Linked DNA regions of Homo sapiens: region 1 is linked to region 2. The links are contacts of gene promoters, found by promoter capture Hi-C in human tissues and cell types (Jung and others, 2019). All regions are on one chromosome and are shown on one strand. Each heading gives the region's core, a stretch centred on a gene start or on the middle of the fragment in contact. The rest is flanking DNA. Distances are from core to core; before and after follow the strand shown. Region 1 holds the start of MYPOP (Myb related transcription factor, partner of profilin). Region 2 holds the start of CALM3 (calmodulin 3).

Region 1 (7,328 bases), core at 4,068-6,567, 700 kb after region 2:
ACGCCCAAAGCTCCAGCCTGCACTTTCCGATGGTGCCCTGTGTATGGATTTTGAAGTTGCTTAGCCGGCCCTACAATCCTGTAAGCCAATTCCTTGCAACAGATCACTTCATACATACCCCCTACTGGCTCTGTTCCTCCGTGTTATCCCTGATTGAAGTGAGCTACTTCCTGTCCATCCACCATCCCCAGCTAGAAAGGAAGCTCTGAGAGTGGAGTTCAGTATTTTATTCACTGCTGTATCCCAGGTGCCTACGGCCAGCACTTTTTTTTTTCTTTTTTTTTGAGACAGAGTTTCGCTCTTGTTGCCGGGCTAGAGTGCAGTGGCACCATCTCAGCTCACTGCAACCTCCGCTCTGGTTCAAGCGATTCTCCTGCCTCCACCTCCCAAGTAGCTGGGATTATAGGCGTGCACCACCACACCCGGCTAATTGTGTATTTTTCGTAGAGACGGGGGTTCACCATGTTGGCCAGGCTGGTCTCGAACTCCTGACCTCATCATCCACCCGCCTCAGCCTTCCAAAGTGCTGGGATTACAGGCATGAGCCACCATACCTGGCCCCTTCTTTTTTTTTAAGACAGGGTATCAGCCAGTGCAGTGGCTCGCACCTGTAATCCCAGCATTTTGGGAGGCTGAGGCAGTAGGATCACTTGAGCCCAGGAGTTCAAAACCAGCCTGGGTGATGTAGCAGGACCTCATCTCTATCTTTTAAATTAAAAAAAAAAAAAGAAGAAAAGAAAAGACAGAGTCTCGCTCTGTCGTCCAGGCTGGAGTGCAGTGGCAAGATAATAGCTCGCTGCAGCCTGAACTCCTGGCCTCAAGCAATCCTCCTACCTCAGCCTCCCAAAGTGCTGGGATTACAGGCATGAGCAACCAGGCCCAGCCCTAGGGCAGCACTTGATATGCTTGTTGCATCCATTTCTTTTAGCATTAAAACAACACAAAACAAAACAAAAATTTAGCTTCCACTCCGCCTCTGCCTCCAGCCCTCTTCCACATACCTGATGGGTTCCTGGATGCTCTTCCTCATTCCCCAAACCTCCCCAGGCCTTTCATACCCACCACATCCCAAACCACTTCAGCATCTTACCCCCACATCTGCTACCCCTCAAGTCCCCATCTTGGCCGGCCCTACCATGTAATGTACCCTGTCTCCAGGGCCAGAGATCTAGGCTTTTTCCCTCACCCCTCACAGCCCATCAGGTTCCAAGTCCTGTCCATTCTTCCTCCTAAATATCTCTCCTTGCAACTTCCTAAGTATTTTCCTGGACTCACTAATGGGTCAAGATTCACAGTTTTGGCTGGACTCAGTGGCTCACGCCTGTAATCCCAACACTCTTGGAGGCTGAGGCCTCACAGAGGATTGCTCAAGCCCAGGAATTTGGGACCAGCCTAGGCAACACAGTGGGATCTTGTCTCTACAAAAAATTTTAAAACTTAGCCGGGCATGATGGTGTGTGCCTGTAGTTCCAGCTACTCTAGAGGCTGAGGTGGGAGGGTGAGCCTGGAAGTTTGAGTCATGATTGCATGATTGTACCACTGCACTCCAGTCTGGGTCATAGAGCAAGTCTCTGTCTCAAAAAAAAAAAAAAAAAAGGACTCACAACTCACAGTTTTGAAAATGTGGCCCTTCGCCAGGCACAGTGGCTCATGCCTATAATCCTAGCACTTTGGGAGGACAAGGCAGGTGGATCATCTGAGGTCAGGTGTTTGAGACCAGCCTGGCCAACACGGGTGAAATCCCATCTCTACTAAAAAAAAAACAAAAATTAGCCAAGTGTGGTGGCGTGCCCCTGTAGTCCCAGGTACTCAGGAGGCTGAGACAGGAGAATCGCTTGAACCAGGGAGGCAGAGGTTGCTGTGAGCCGAGATCGCACCATTGCTCTCCAGCCTGGGCGACAAGAGCAAAACTCCATCAAGAAAAGAAAAGAGGCAAGACAAGAAAGAAAATGTGGCCCTAGAAAGCCTTCCCTGACCCACCCTCACCCCAGGAGTCTTGCCCTCTGACTTCCTGCATCCAGCTTCCAGCTACCCACATCTGTGGAGCTCCATACCCCACTGCTGTGGCTCTCCACCTCCCACCGCCTCGTGAACCCAGAGCCAGGTTTAGACTCAACTCTCTGCCTGGACTGCCATGGAGGCAGCAGCTCCCTGAATGCAGCTCCCCGAATGCCTTCCCGGGGTCCCCAGTGCATTTGTTTCCTGTGGCTGCCATGACAAGGTACCGCAAACTGGGTGGTTTAAAACGAGAAACGTGGCTAGGCACGGTGGCTCACACCTGTAATCCTAGCACTTTGGGAGGCCGAGACAGGCGGATCACCTGAGGTAAGGAGTTCAAGACCAGCCTGGCCAACACTGTGAAACCCCGTCTCTACTAAAAATACAAAAATTAGCTGGGCATGGTGGCATGCGCCTGTAATCCCAGTTACCCGGGAGACTGAGGCAGGAGAATCACTGGAATCCGGGAGGCAGAGGCTGCAGCGAGCCGAGATCGTGCCACTGTACTCCAGCCTGGGCAACAGAGCAAGACTCCATTTCAAAAAAAAAAAAAAAACAGAGAGAGAGAAACGTATTGTCTCCCAGATTCACCAGGCTGAAAATCCGAAATCAAGGCATGGGCGTGGCCTCACTCCGGACAAGGCTCCAGCGGGTGATCTTTCCTGGCTTCTTCCAGCTTCTGATAGCACAGGGCCTTCCTGGGCTTGTGGCTGCGTCACCCCCGTCTCCACTTCTGTCACCATAGAATTGTCTTCCCTGTGTGTCTCCTCTTCTTATAAAGACACCGGGAATGAGGAATGACGGGTCCACCCTACACTGGTATGGCTACCTCTCAACGAATTCCCTCTCCAAGGACCCTATTTCCAAATAAGGTCACATTCTGAAGCACTGGGGGATCAGGACTTCAGCCTCTCTTTTTGGGGGAAACAGTTCAACCTGTTGGTCACTTTACACTCACGTATCTTTTTTTGATTGTGTTTTTTTTGTTGTTGTTCTTATTTTTTTAATTTAATTTTTTTTTGAGGCAGAGTCTCACGCTGTCCCCCAGGCTGGAATGCAGTGGCGCAGTCTCAGCTCACTGCAAGCTCAGCCTCCCGGGTTCATGCCATTCTCCTGCCTCAGCCTCCCGAGTAGCTGGGACTTCAGGCGCCTGCCACCACTCCCGGCTAATTTTTTGTATTTTTAGTAGAGACGGGGTTTCACCATGTTAGTCAGGATGGTCTCAATCTCCTGACCTCGTGATCCACCTGCCTCGGCCTCCCAAAGTGCTGGGATTACAGGAATGAGCCACTGCGCCCGGCCTTTTTTTTAATTTTTTTGAGACAGAGTCTCACTCTGTCGCCCAGGCTGGAGTGCAGTGGTGAGATCTCGGTTCCCTGCAATCTGTGCCTCCTAGGCTCAAGAGATTCTCCTGCCTCAGCCTCCCGAGTAGCTAGGATTACAGGCACATGGCACAACACCCAGCTATTTTTTTTTTTTTTGAATTTTTAATAGAGACAGGGTTCCACCATGTTGGCCAGGCTGGTCTCGAACTCCTGACCTCAGATGATCCACCTGTCTCAGCCTCCCAAAGTGTTGGGATTACAGGCGTGAGCCACTGCACCCAGCCTTACATTCACCACATCTTACCTGACCCCACACCCCCAAGTGAGAACCTGGGCCAGAGACTTGGGTTTCACCTAGACATCTTCCTTTCCCTCGCTAGCGCGACACTCACCATGCTTTCCATATATTCTCTCAAATGTCTCTCCGTGTCCCCCTTGACACTGTCCCTGTCTTAGTTTAGTCTCCCCTCGCTTTCCTAATCCTTTTCTTACCCCTGCTCATGACTTTTTTTGACTCTACCCAGTAGTCTTGCTCCCTCCCACCCACCCTCCACACAGCAGGCAGAGGGGCCTTTTTTTTCTCTCTCTCTTCTTTTGAGACAGGGTCTTACTCTGTTGCCCAAGCTGGAGAGCAGTGGCCTGATCATAGCTCACTGCAGCCTGCAACTCCTGGGCTCAAGCGATCCTCCCGCCTCAGCCTCCCAAGTAGCTGGGACTACAGGCATGTATTTTTTTTTTTTTTTTTTTTGAGACGGAGTCTCACTCTGTCGTCCAGGTGGAGTGCAGTGGTGCAATCTCAGCTCACTGCAACCTCTGCCTCCCGGGGTTAAGCGATTCTCGTGCCTCAGCCTCCCGAGTAGCTGGGATTACAGGCATGCACCACCATGCCCAGCTAGTTTTTGTATTTTCAGTAGAGATGGGGTTTCACTGTGTTGGCCAGGCTTGTCTCGAACCCCTGACCTCAGGTAATCCGCCCGCCTTGGCTTCCCAAAGTGCTGGGATTACAGGCGTGAGCTCCACCGCGCCCGGCCCAGGCTACGGATTTTAGCTTTTATGTTCATTGTACCAGGAACTGTGTAAGTGCTCATGTATATTTATTGAGTCGATGAATGAAGCACCAATTGTCGAATGACCTTGAGGACTCCTGCAGGATGCTAACGAACACACTTCTCAGCCGGACTGAGCTCCATCATCCTGCCATGCGGCTCACCCCACCTGCGTTCTGGCTTCATTCCTGTCTCCATGCACTTGCTTAAAGTCGTGCCGGCGTCAGGATCTCCCTTCCTACCAGCCAGGAAGCTCTTCCCTCTTATTTTCCCCGCTCCTCGAGGTAAAGGTGCGCACAGAGGGGCCCCCAAGGCGTGACTGGAAGGCTTGTGGGTCGCTATGGTTACTGCATCCGCCCGGGGCGGGACATCCCCAGGACGCCCAGCCTCTAGGGGTGCGAGGTGGGAAGCTCTGGAGCGGCCCAGCGCAGGGGCGGGCAAGCCAGGAGGCAAAGCGGTTTCCTCACGCCTCCACCCCACCCACACAGTTGTCAAGGAGACAAAGCGCTTCCCTTCAGCGCTGTCTCCCTCCCCTTTGGTTAGAGGGCAGGGTGGGCTGGAAGACTGTCCGAAAGGTTGGGTACTGGCGCGCTCCCAGCATCTCTCCCATCCAAGCTCGCAACGCCTGCGCCGAGACCCGGTACCGGGTACAACCCGAGGCACGCGCATGCGCGCGATGGAGTTTTTGCGCGTGCGCCGTTGTGGCCCCAGGAAGCTGGGGTACCCGCGCGGCGCTAACGTTGCGGCTGCGCAGTTGCGGCCTGCTGGTGGGGCTCGGCGGAGCGCAGTTCTGCGCCTGCGCTGTGCTGGGGTAGGTGGGAATGAAACCCTGGCGGTAAGGGCATTGGGGCCGACTGGCCCTGGGCGCGCCTGCGCCTTGGCATGCGGGGCGGCCGGAGGCGGGGCCGAAAGAGGGGAGGGAGGGAGGCGGGGGGTGGGAACAGGCCGCAGAAGCCCGAGCCCTGACCCACCGGCGGCTGCGGCGGAGCCGGTGAGTGACCCGTGGCCCGACTCGGTCCCCACCCTCCGCGACCTTCGCTCTCCCTGCCGTCCCCCGTAGCCTCCGTTGTCTCCTTGTGATACGGGACCCCCGTTATTTCCAGAGCTCCCCTTAATTTCTGGCAATCCCCAGAGCCCCCACAATCCTCGCAGACCCTGATCCCTAATATTTGATCGTTCCAGCTCTTCCAGTGATACAGGAGCTCCCACCTCACCATTATTCCTGGACATCCCTCTAAGGGCCCTTCTCATATCGGTCTTACAGACGCCCCGTTGCCCCCTAGAGCCCCTAGAGCGCCTCCTCTGCTCCAGATTCCCCCCTTCTTGCTGCATCCCCCCTTCCGCATCTCCTTATCTTCATGCATCTAAGACCCCCCCGAGGCACCCCCATCCTCCCTCCATTTCCTATCCTCCCGTGCCCCCATTCTCTAACTCCTGCAGACACCTCCTCTCCTCGCACTTTTCCTCCTTTCCTTCCATCCCTCCAGACCCTCCCCCAATTTCTATCAACTCTTCAGCGTGGCACTTCGCGCCGCGCGAAGTCCGAGCCAAGCGCTCAGCCGGTGTCAGCTACTCTTAGGCGCTTCCGACTTACCCGGGTGCCCGTCGCCCCCGCCCGCCCCCCGCCCCCACTCCTGCCCCCGGGGACTAAGGAGCTCTCGGCCCGGCGGTCTGGGAGAGGCGGCGGCGGGGGGACCCCGAACCCCAGCCAGCCCCGTGCGCCCTTTGCCCGCAGCGCCGGCGCCCCCCATGCGCCAGACGGCAGGACGGCGGCGTCGGGGGGCGCCATGGCCTCGGCGGCGGCGGGCGAAGCGGAGGAAACCACCCGGTTGCGCAAGCCGCGCTTCTCATTCGAAGAGAACCAGATCCTGATCCGCGAGGTGCGCGCCCACTACCCGCAGCTCTACGGCGCGCAGAGCCGTCGGGTGAGCGTGGCAGAGCGGCGGCGCGTGTGGGACGGCATCGCCGCCAAGATCAACGGTATCACCAGCTGGAAGCGCACGGGCCAGGAGGTGCAGAAGCGCTGGAACGACTTCAAGCGCCGCACCAAGGAGAAGCTCGCTCGCGTGCCGCACTCCACGCAGGGCGCCGGGCCCGCCGCGGAGGACGCTTTCTCCGCGGAAGAGGAGACCATTTTTGCCATCCTGGGGCCAGGTGTGGCGGCGCCGGGGGCAGGTGCTGGGGCGGAGGAGCCCCCTGCGGCCCCCTCTTCACAGCCGCCGCCCCCAAGCGCCTGCCCTCAGCGCTACGTGTTGTCGGAAGACCGCCGGGAGGACCGACGTGCAGGTGAGTGTCTTCAGAGTAGGCTGTGTGCCTGCGCTGTTGCAAGCCTTTTACATGTCTCATCAAAGCCTTGCTGCAGCCCTGTGAGGTGGATGCTGTCCTTCGCCCCATTTTATAGCTAGGGAAACTGAAGCTCAGAAAAATGAAATGACTTGCCTCAGTTCCGATAGCTAGTAACTGTCAAGAGCCAGGAATGGAACCAGATTTAGGAGGCCTGACTCAGGTCCACACCTGGGGTCATCAGCACAGGCAGGATTTCATTAAATGCAGTGTCGAGTAGTGACTCTGGAGGCAGGCTGCCTGGGCTCCGATCACAACTTTGCCACTGAACTGTGTCATCTGAGTAAGTTACTGTACTTCAGTTGCTGCATCTGTAAAATGGAGATAAAAATAGTCTGCACCTCAAAGCGTTGCTGTGAAGATTAAATGAGCTAATATGGGTAAGTTGCTTAGTTCAGCACCTCCTCAACTCTCATTGTTAGTTCTTGATAGAATCATCAATGCGGTAAGATGCATACTATTTCACTATTTCATAAATAAAAGACTCAGACATGTTTGGTAATTTTCCCAAGGTCATGCCTTGGATAGAGGTGTGGAGAGCTGACTACAGAAACTTCCTGCTTAGCCTTGATTCTGGATTATTTCTTCTACAGCCGTTCCCTGAGCACCTGCCCCA
Region 2 (6,831 bases), core at 1,103-3,602:
TGATCCTTGCTCAAGGTTTCTTCCCTTTCTAGACCTGAAGACTAAACTTTCAACAAAAACTGTTTCCAAAATAACTCAGCTGGTCTCCTGCTTCCTTATCCCTCATCTTAGGCTCCAGCAAGGGGCTGGACAAGAAAAAAAACCATGAGGTGGGGGAGGGAAGAGGGTGTGATTTCTCTGCCTTGCCCCAGCCCCCAGCCAATGCCAGAGAGCAGTGTTAGATGAGATCAGAAACCAAGGCCAGGGCCCCTCACCCGGGCCAAGGAGGAGCCACAGAGCTCAGGCCAAAGTCCAAGGCCAGTTACCAGTGACTTGTCCCACCTCTACCTTGCTGATTACAAACAGAAAGAGAAACTAGTTGTGGCCAAAGCTTGGGTCCTATTCTGGAGGTAGGGGGCCTGCTAGTGCTTCAGGGCCCCTTTTAGCCAGGTTCTGCTGGGGGAAAATGGGGTAGCGGCAAGAGGAGCCATCAGGTCTGTGTCAGCAAGTATGAGATCTGATACACAGCAGCGGCTGCCTGTTCTCCCCAGCCTTGCCAGGGAGGATGGCTGCACACGGTTCCCAGGCTCAGCCTGGTGGGGCTGTGGGTGTTGTGGGTGGCAGGGAGTAGGAAAGAACTAGTCTGCTGGTTTTCTCTCAAAGCCCTGTGAATTAACAGACACGCTCAGCGAGGGCCCTGAATGGAACAAGTGGCCCTCAGGCCGATCAAGGGGTCTCCCCAGAGGCACTCTCTGATCAAGCTCTGCAGCCCCCACCCCGAGGGCACGGGAATAGGCATCTGATTGTCACTGACGCCACACTGTACTGCACTGTCATTTGGCACAAGTGACGAGGTGCAGCATGGTGCGTGGGGCTGGGGATCATGAGAAAACCGGCGCTCCTGCTGGGAAAAGGCAGTGCTCTTGGCCTGAAAAGGGCAGCGACAGAGTGAGGCTTCTAGGCTTGAAAAAGCTGGCTCATTCGAGGCACCCCAAACTTTGATCTCCCATCCCCATTTCATGAGGCTTCAGTGCGCAATAGGGGCCCGAACAGCTCCGCCCACCTGCTCCCACTGCCCCGGTGTCTTCCACCCAGCCGCGTTCTTCCTGAGGAAGGAGGACGGTAGAAAAGCTTCCTCCGGGCCCTGCAGCCCACTCCCCATCCACACTGAGCCGTCTTTGTCCTGGCCTGTCCCTGGAGACTGGCAGGGTGCTACCCACATCCACCCCCAAACCTAGGCCCCCCTGACTGCCATTCATTTTCTCCTTCCACCTCACCTCCCAACCACCCAAGCCCAAGTCCTCCCCCACCCCTCACCTTGGAAATCCATCTTCTCTTGGACCCAAACACAACACTCCCACCCCGTTAAAAAAATTCTGTCTTTCTAGAGCAACAGTCTTAACCCACTAGTAACCTCGGAACCTTTTCTAGCTACTTCCAAATTAACCCCAAGGGTCCCTGTCCCCCGACTACTGGCGAGCCCCACTCTCACCATCCCTTTTCACCACCTCCACGACCCTGATCCTTCTCCGTCCCGGAAGCCTTCAAGAGTATCTTCTAATCTCCGCTGCCACCCACCCCAGGCTCTTCCTCCCATAAGCTTGCACCTCACCCTCCTCCTCCTCTGCAGTGCTGGGCTCTGGAGACCACCCTCCCCCACCCTCCCCCACCCTCGGGAGTCTCATCTGTAGAAGTGACCGCCCATCCTTGACCCTCTCCTCTGCTCCACAGGAGCCCAGGGGTCGCCCCTCCCCGCCCGGGCCCAGCTACCCTCCACCACCCCATCCAGGAGCAGCCCAGCCTCCCTTCGTCCCCCGTTCCCCGCATCCTCTCAGGACCAAACGCCTTCATCAGGGCCCGAATAGCTCCCCTCCCCAGCCCATCTTTCTTATTTCGTCCCCTGGGGTCCAAACACCTCCATCCTGAAACCCAACGCCCCATCCTGGGTCCAAAATCCTTTTGAGGGGTCCCACTGAGGGTCCCGATCCTCCATCCGGGGTTCAAATGTCCCCTTTAGGGGCTCAGATACCCATTTGTGGACTTAAACATCCCATTTGGTGCTAAAGTCGCTTCTGGAAACCTCTGGTGATCCAGACGTCCCGCTCTGGGTTCAACAGCCCCCGACAACGCGGGTAGAAAAGGGTCCCGAGGCTCTCGCCGGGCCCGGACGCCCCCCACTCTGGGCTCTGTCGCCCCCTCAGGGGTCCTGCCCCGTTAAGCCCGCCTCAGAGCCCGCAGCCTCGGCGACCCCCCAGCCTCACTCACCATGGCGAGGCCCGGGGTGTCCGGAGCACGGGGATCAAGGTTCCTCCGGCGGCGGCAGCAGCTGCAGCAGTTCCAGCTCCGCCGCGCGTCCGCGCCTCCACACTCACTGCCCGCAGCGCGCGCCGCCGCCGCCGCCGCCTCCCGCCCCAACGGTCCCTCAACGGCCGCCGCGCGCGCCCCGCCTCGCTCGGCCCCGCCCCACCCGGCCCGCGCGCCGCCGCACTGCGGCTCCCACGGATCCCTCCGCGCCCCGCTCCACACCTACGGGCCCGCGAATCTCTCGTCCCCACCCTGCACAGGAATTGGGTTTGCCGCCGGGCGCGCGCGCGCTCGCTCCCGTCGCCGGACTACTTTCCCTCGCCGCGCGCCCCGCCTCCCGGGCCCACTTCACTTTCTTCGGCGGAGGGGCACAGCTCGGCGGTGCGTGACGCGTCCCTCTGTGAGCCGCGTCACTATTGGGCCTGGCCCATGGCGGAAATGAGAGCTTGGCGCCCATTGGTCCGACCTTCCCTGCAATGCGTCAAACTGGGGCGAGCCACTGCAAGGTGGTGGTGGGTAAGTCTGAACTCTGTGGCCGCGTGGGGCTTTGAGGAGTAACGAGGCGAAGGGGGAAACGGCGTCGCCGTTAGAGAAGCAAATACGTCGTTTCTGTGGCCAGGAGGTGGTAAAAAGGCTGGCGACAAATGCAGAAGGGCTTTCTCGGCTCTCCCCTTTAACCGACGGACGATGGTTCAATCCAAAATGCTAGGGTTTAGAAGCTCCGCCCCTAACTGGGCCTTTGGAGGTGGCGGGGTCTCCAAGGTGCCACCTAACGCTCAGAGGTTCCGCCCTCCGTGGTCTTGTCTCTGCGTCCTAAGACGCACTCAGCCGGTGGGCGGGACCCCTGGGCCCGCTTCATTCTTGATCCGCTCAGGGTCTGTGAAATTAGGACCATCCCAGGACAGCCTGTGGGAACGGGGTATTCATTCAGTCATTCGTGCTATAAGCATCAATTAGGCGCCTGCTGTATGCAGGGACCTGAGCTTGGCTGGGCTGGGGAGACCATACTCCCCAACCAGCCTCTCCAGACAGACGACCTCTTTCCTTATTCCAGTGTTCCAGCCATAGGAGGAAAAAGAACTGAAACTTTGTTTATAGGAGCTCAGAAAATGATCACCCCTGCCCCCTCCCCCGTTTAGGATAGGAGCTGACAGTCTCCTGCGTGTCCCCTCCCCACCATGTTGATGGTTAAGAGATGGGCAAACGAGTCAGGCTGGACCAATCATTATGCTCCACCTGGAACAGAATGGAGACTGAACCAATGAGAGTCCTTCCCTGGGGTTTGGATCTGCAGCCTGGGCACAAGAAGCCTTTTCCTTTTGGGTGGGTCCTTCCCATAGATTCTGACTATGGTCATTTTCCCACTCTGCCCCCTATCTTGAGGAACAAAGTGTCTAGAGAAGAAGAGAAAAATAAAACTGACACAGTGGAGAGGTAAAGAAGATGGCCGGGCGCGGTGGCTCATGCCTTTAATCCTAACACTTGTTACTCAGTCTCAAATCTCATGTTAAAATGTGATCACCAATGTTGGAGGTGGGGCCTGGTGGGAGGTGTTTGGGTCATAGGGGTGGATCCCTCATGAATGACTTGGTGCTGTCCTCACGGTAACAAGTGAGTTCTTATTCTGTTAGTTCACACAAGATCTGTATTTTTTTTGAGACGGAGTCTTGCTCTGTCACATAGGCTAGAGTGCAGTGGCATGATCTTGGCTCACTACAACCTCCGCCTCCCAGGTTTAAGCGATTCTCCTGCCTCAGCCTCCCAAGTAGTTGGGACTACAGGCACCCACCACTACACTTGGCTAATTTTTGTATTTTTAGTAAAGACAGGGTTTCACCATGTTGGCCAGGCTGGTCTCAAACTCTTGAGCTCAAGTGATCCGCCTGCCTTGGCCTCCCAAAGTGCTGTAATCACAAGAATACAACCATCAGGAGTGCCTCAAGGGAGAAATATCCTCTGAGAATAGCCACAGACAAAGTGGGGAGGTGGGACTACCATCCCCAGCCCTGGAAACTCTCTCTACTCTATAACTTGGCCAAAGGAGATGCCAAATCAGAGTGGCTGTTCGTTAGCACCATGCTGTGGGAGGTTTCTTCCATAGCTCCCCTGGGAATGAACCCCTAGCCAGCTTTCCTATGCTACTGGGATATCCCCTTTGGGACCTCCCCCATTCGGGATGGGAGACGCTCTGATCTTTAATAGAGCCAAGGCAAACCTGGTTTTAAGGTGCCACTGAGTGCTAAAAAGGAGGCAGCAACCTAGCAGAAAAAAAGAAACCAACAGGTCAATTACGAAGAATCTGTAAGCAAATGGAGCCAGTAAAAGCCAAAACAAGCCAGACGGAGAAGGCTGGAATAAGTGACTAATCCTTCAGTGCAAAGGCATAGATGTACATTAACAACAAACCAAAGCAAACAGGGAACCATGAGCTCCCCAAATGGACCAAGTAAGGGACCAGTGACTAAACCTAACAAGACAGTAATATGTGAGCTTTCTAAGAATTCAAAATGGCATTTTTAAGGAAACTCAGTGAATTCCAAGACGACATAGAAAAGCAACGCAGAAATTTATCAGTGAAATTTAACAAAGAGATTGAAATAATAATTTAAAAAAAACCCAAACAAATCTTAGAACTGAGAAATACATTTGCTGAACTGAAAAGTTCATTAGAGGTTCTCAACAGCAGAGTGGGTCAAGCAGAGGAAACAATCAGTGAACTTGGAGACGGGCTGTTTGTAAATACATACAGAAGAAAAAAGAAAAAAGAATGAAAGGAATGGAAATCACCTACGAAATATAGAAGACAAAATCTAAGAATTATTGGTGTTCAAGAGGGAGCTGAGGAGGAGCAAGGGGATAGAAAGGATATTCAAAGAAACAATGGAAGACATTCAAAAATTGCAAATATCCAGGTACAGAAAGGCCAGAGAACACCAAATAGATTTGATTACCCCAAGGCATATAATAATCAAACTCTCAAAGGTCAAGAACAAAGAGAGGATCCTAGAAACAGTAAGAGAAAAGAAGGAAATAACACTTAAAAGAGCTCTAATTTACCTGGCCACAGACTTCTCAATCAAAACCATGAAGGCCATACAAGAATACTGTATCAAGCAAAGCTATTATTCAAATATGAAGAAGAGATAAAGTTTTTCCCAAATAAAAGCAGAGAGAATTCACCACTACCAGATCTGTATTATAAGAAATGCTCTCTTGAAGAAAGACAGTTCCAGAGAGTTCCTCAATCCGGAAAAAAAAAAAACCATGCAAAAAGAAAAAAAATTTTTTTTGAGACACGATCTTGCTCTATCACCCAGGATGGAGTGCAGTGGCCCAATCATAGCTTACTGCAGCCTCAAACTGCCAGGCTCCAGTGATCCTCCCACCTCAGCCTCCTGAGTAGCTGGGACTACAGGTGCACACCACCATGCCTGGCTAATTTTTGTATTTTCTTTCTGGTAGAGATGGGGTTTTGCCATGTTGCCCAGGCTGGTCTCGAATTCCTGAGCTCAAGCAGTCTTCCCCCATTGGCCTCCTAAAGTGTTGGGATTACAGGTGTGAGCCATCATTCCTGGCCAAAGAAAATATTTGAAGGTATAAAACCCATTGGTAAAATTAGGTGCACAGAGAAACCCAGGATACTCCAATACTGTAATTGTGGTATGCAATTCATTCTTAACTCTACCATAAAGCCTCAAAGACAAATCTATCAAAAACAATAATATTGAGCTGGGTGTAGTCTCAGCTACTTGGGAGGCTGAGGCAGGAGGATCACTTGAACCTAGGAGTTTGAGGCCAGTCTGAGCAACACAGTAAGACCCCATAATTAAAACAATAATAGCTATAGCAGCTTGTTAAAAGACAAGCAAAATAAAAATATGTAAATTGAGGAAACAAAAAGTCAAAATGTGGGAGGGAAGGAGATAAAGTGTGGAGTTTTTATTCATTGTTTCTATTTTTTTCTTTGTGATCTAAGATGTTATCGCTTTAAAATAACTTGTTATAAGATTTTTTTTAGAAGCCTCAAGGTAACCACAATGCAAAAACCTATAATAGATTCAATAAAAATAAAAAGTAGCAAGTTAAAACGTACTACCAGAGAAAATCACTTAACCACAAAGGAAGACAGTAAGAAAGGAAAAAAGGGGGCCAGGCACGGTGGCCCACACCTATAATCCCAGCACTTTGGGAGGCTGAAGCAGGCGGATCACCTGAGGTCGGGAGTTCGAGATCAGCCTGACTAACATAGAGAAACCGCTTCTCTACTAAAAATACAAAAAATTAGCCGGGCGTGGTGGCACATGCCTGTAATTCCAGCTACTCGGGAGACTGAGGCAGGAGAATCGCTTGAACCTGGGAGGCGGAGGTTGTGGTGAGCCGAGATTGTGCCATTGCACTCCAGCCTGGGCAATAAAAATGAAACTTCATCTCAAAAAAAAACAAAAAACAAAAAACTTGTTATAAGATTTTTTTATAAGCCTTAAGGTAACCACAATGCAAAAACCTATAATAGATTCAATAAAAATAAAAAGTAACAAGTTAAAACAT

Evidence for each region. Contacts are between HindIII fragments. The study calls those that stand out against the background at their distance.
Region 1: the fragment with the promoter of MYPOP here is called in contact with the fragment with the promoter of CALM3 in region 2 in 1 of the 25 tissues and cell types used here (pancreas).

What each region holds. Positions count from the first base shown.
Region 1 is chr19:45,900,602-45,907,929 of GRCh38, reverse strand. MYPOP (Myb related transcription factor, partner of profilin) reads left to right here and starts at 5,317. Exons shown (of 3, transcript NM_001012643.4): 1 at 5,317-5,360; 2 at 6,105-6,655. The coding sequence starts at 6,157. RefSeq lists silencers at 4,625-4,704, 5,265-5,314 and enhancers at 4,965-5,074, 5,505-5,554. The HindIII fragment of the contact is 9,891 bases long and covers 3,782-7,328 here.
Region 2 is chr19:46,596,851-46,603,681 of GRCh38, reverse strand. It overlaps CALM3 (calmodulin 3), which reads right to left and starts at 2,352. Exons shown (of 6, transcript NM_005184.4): 1 at 2,245-2,352. The coding sequence starts at 2,247. It also overlaps the pseudogene PPP5D1P. RefSeq lists enhancers at 790-859, 2,588-3,087 and a silencer at 2,318-2,457. The HindIII fragment of the contact is 7,591 bases long and covers 1,346-6,831 here.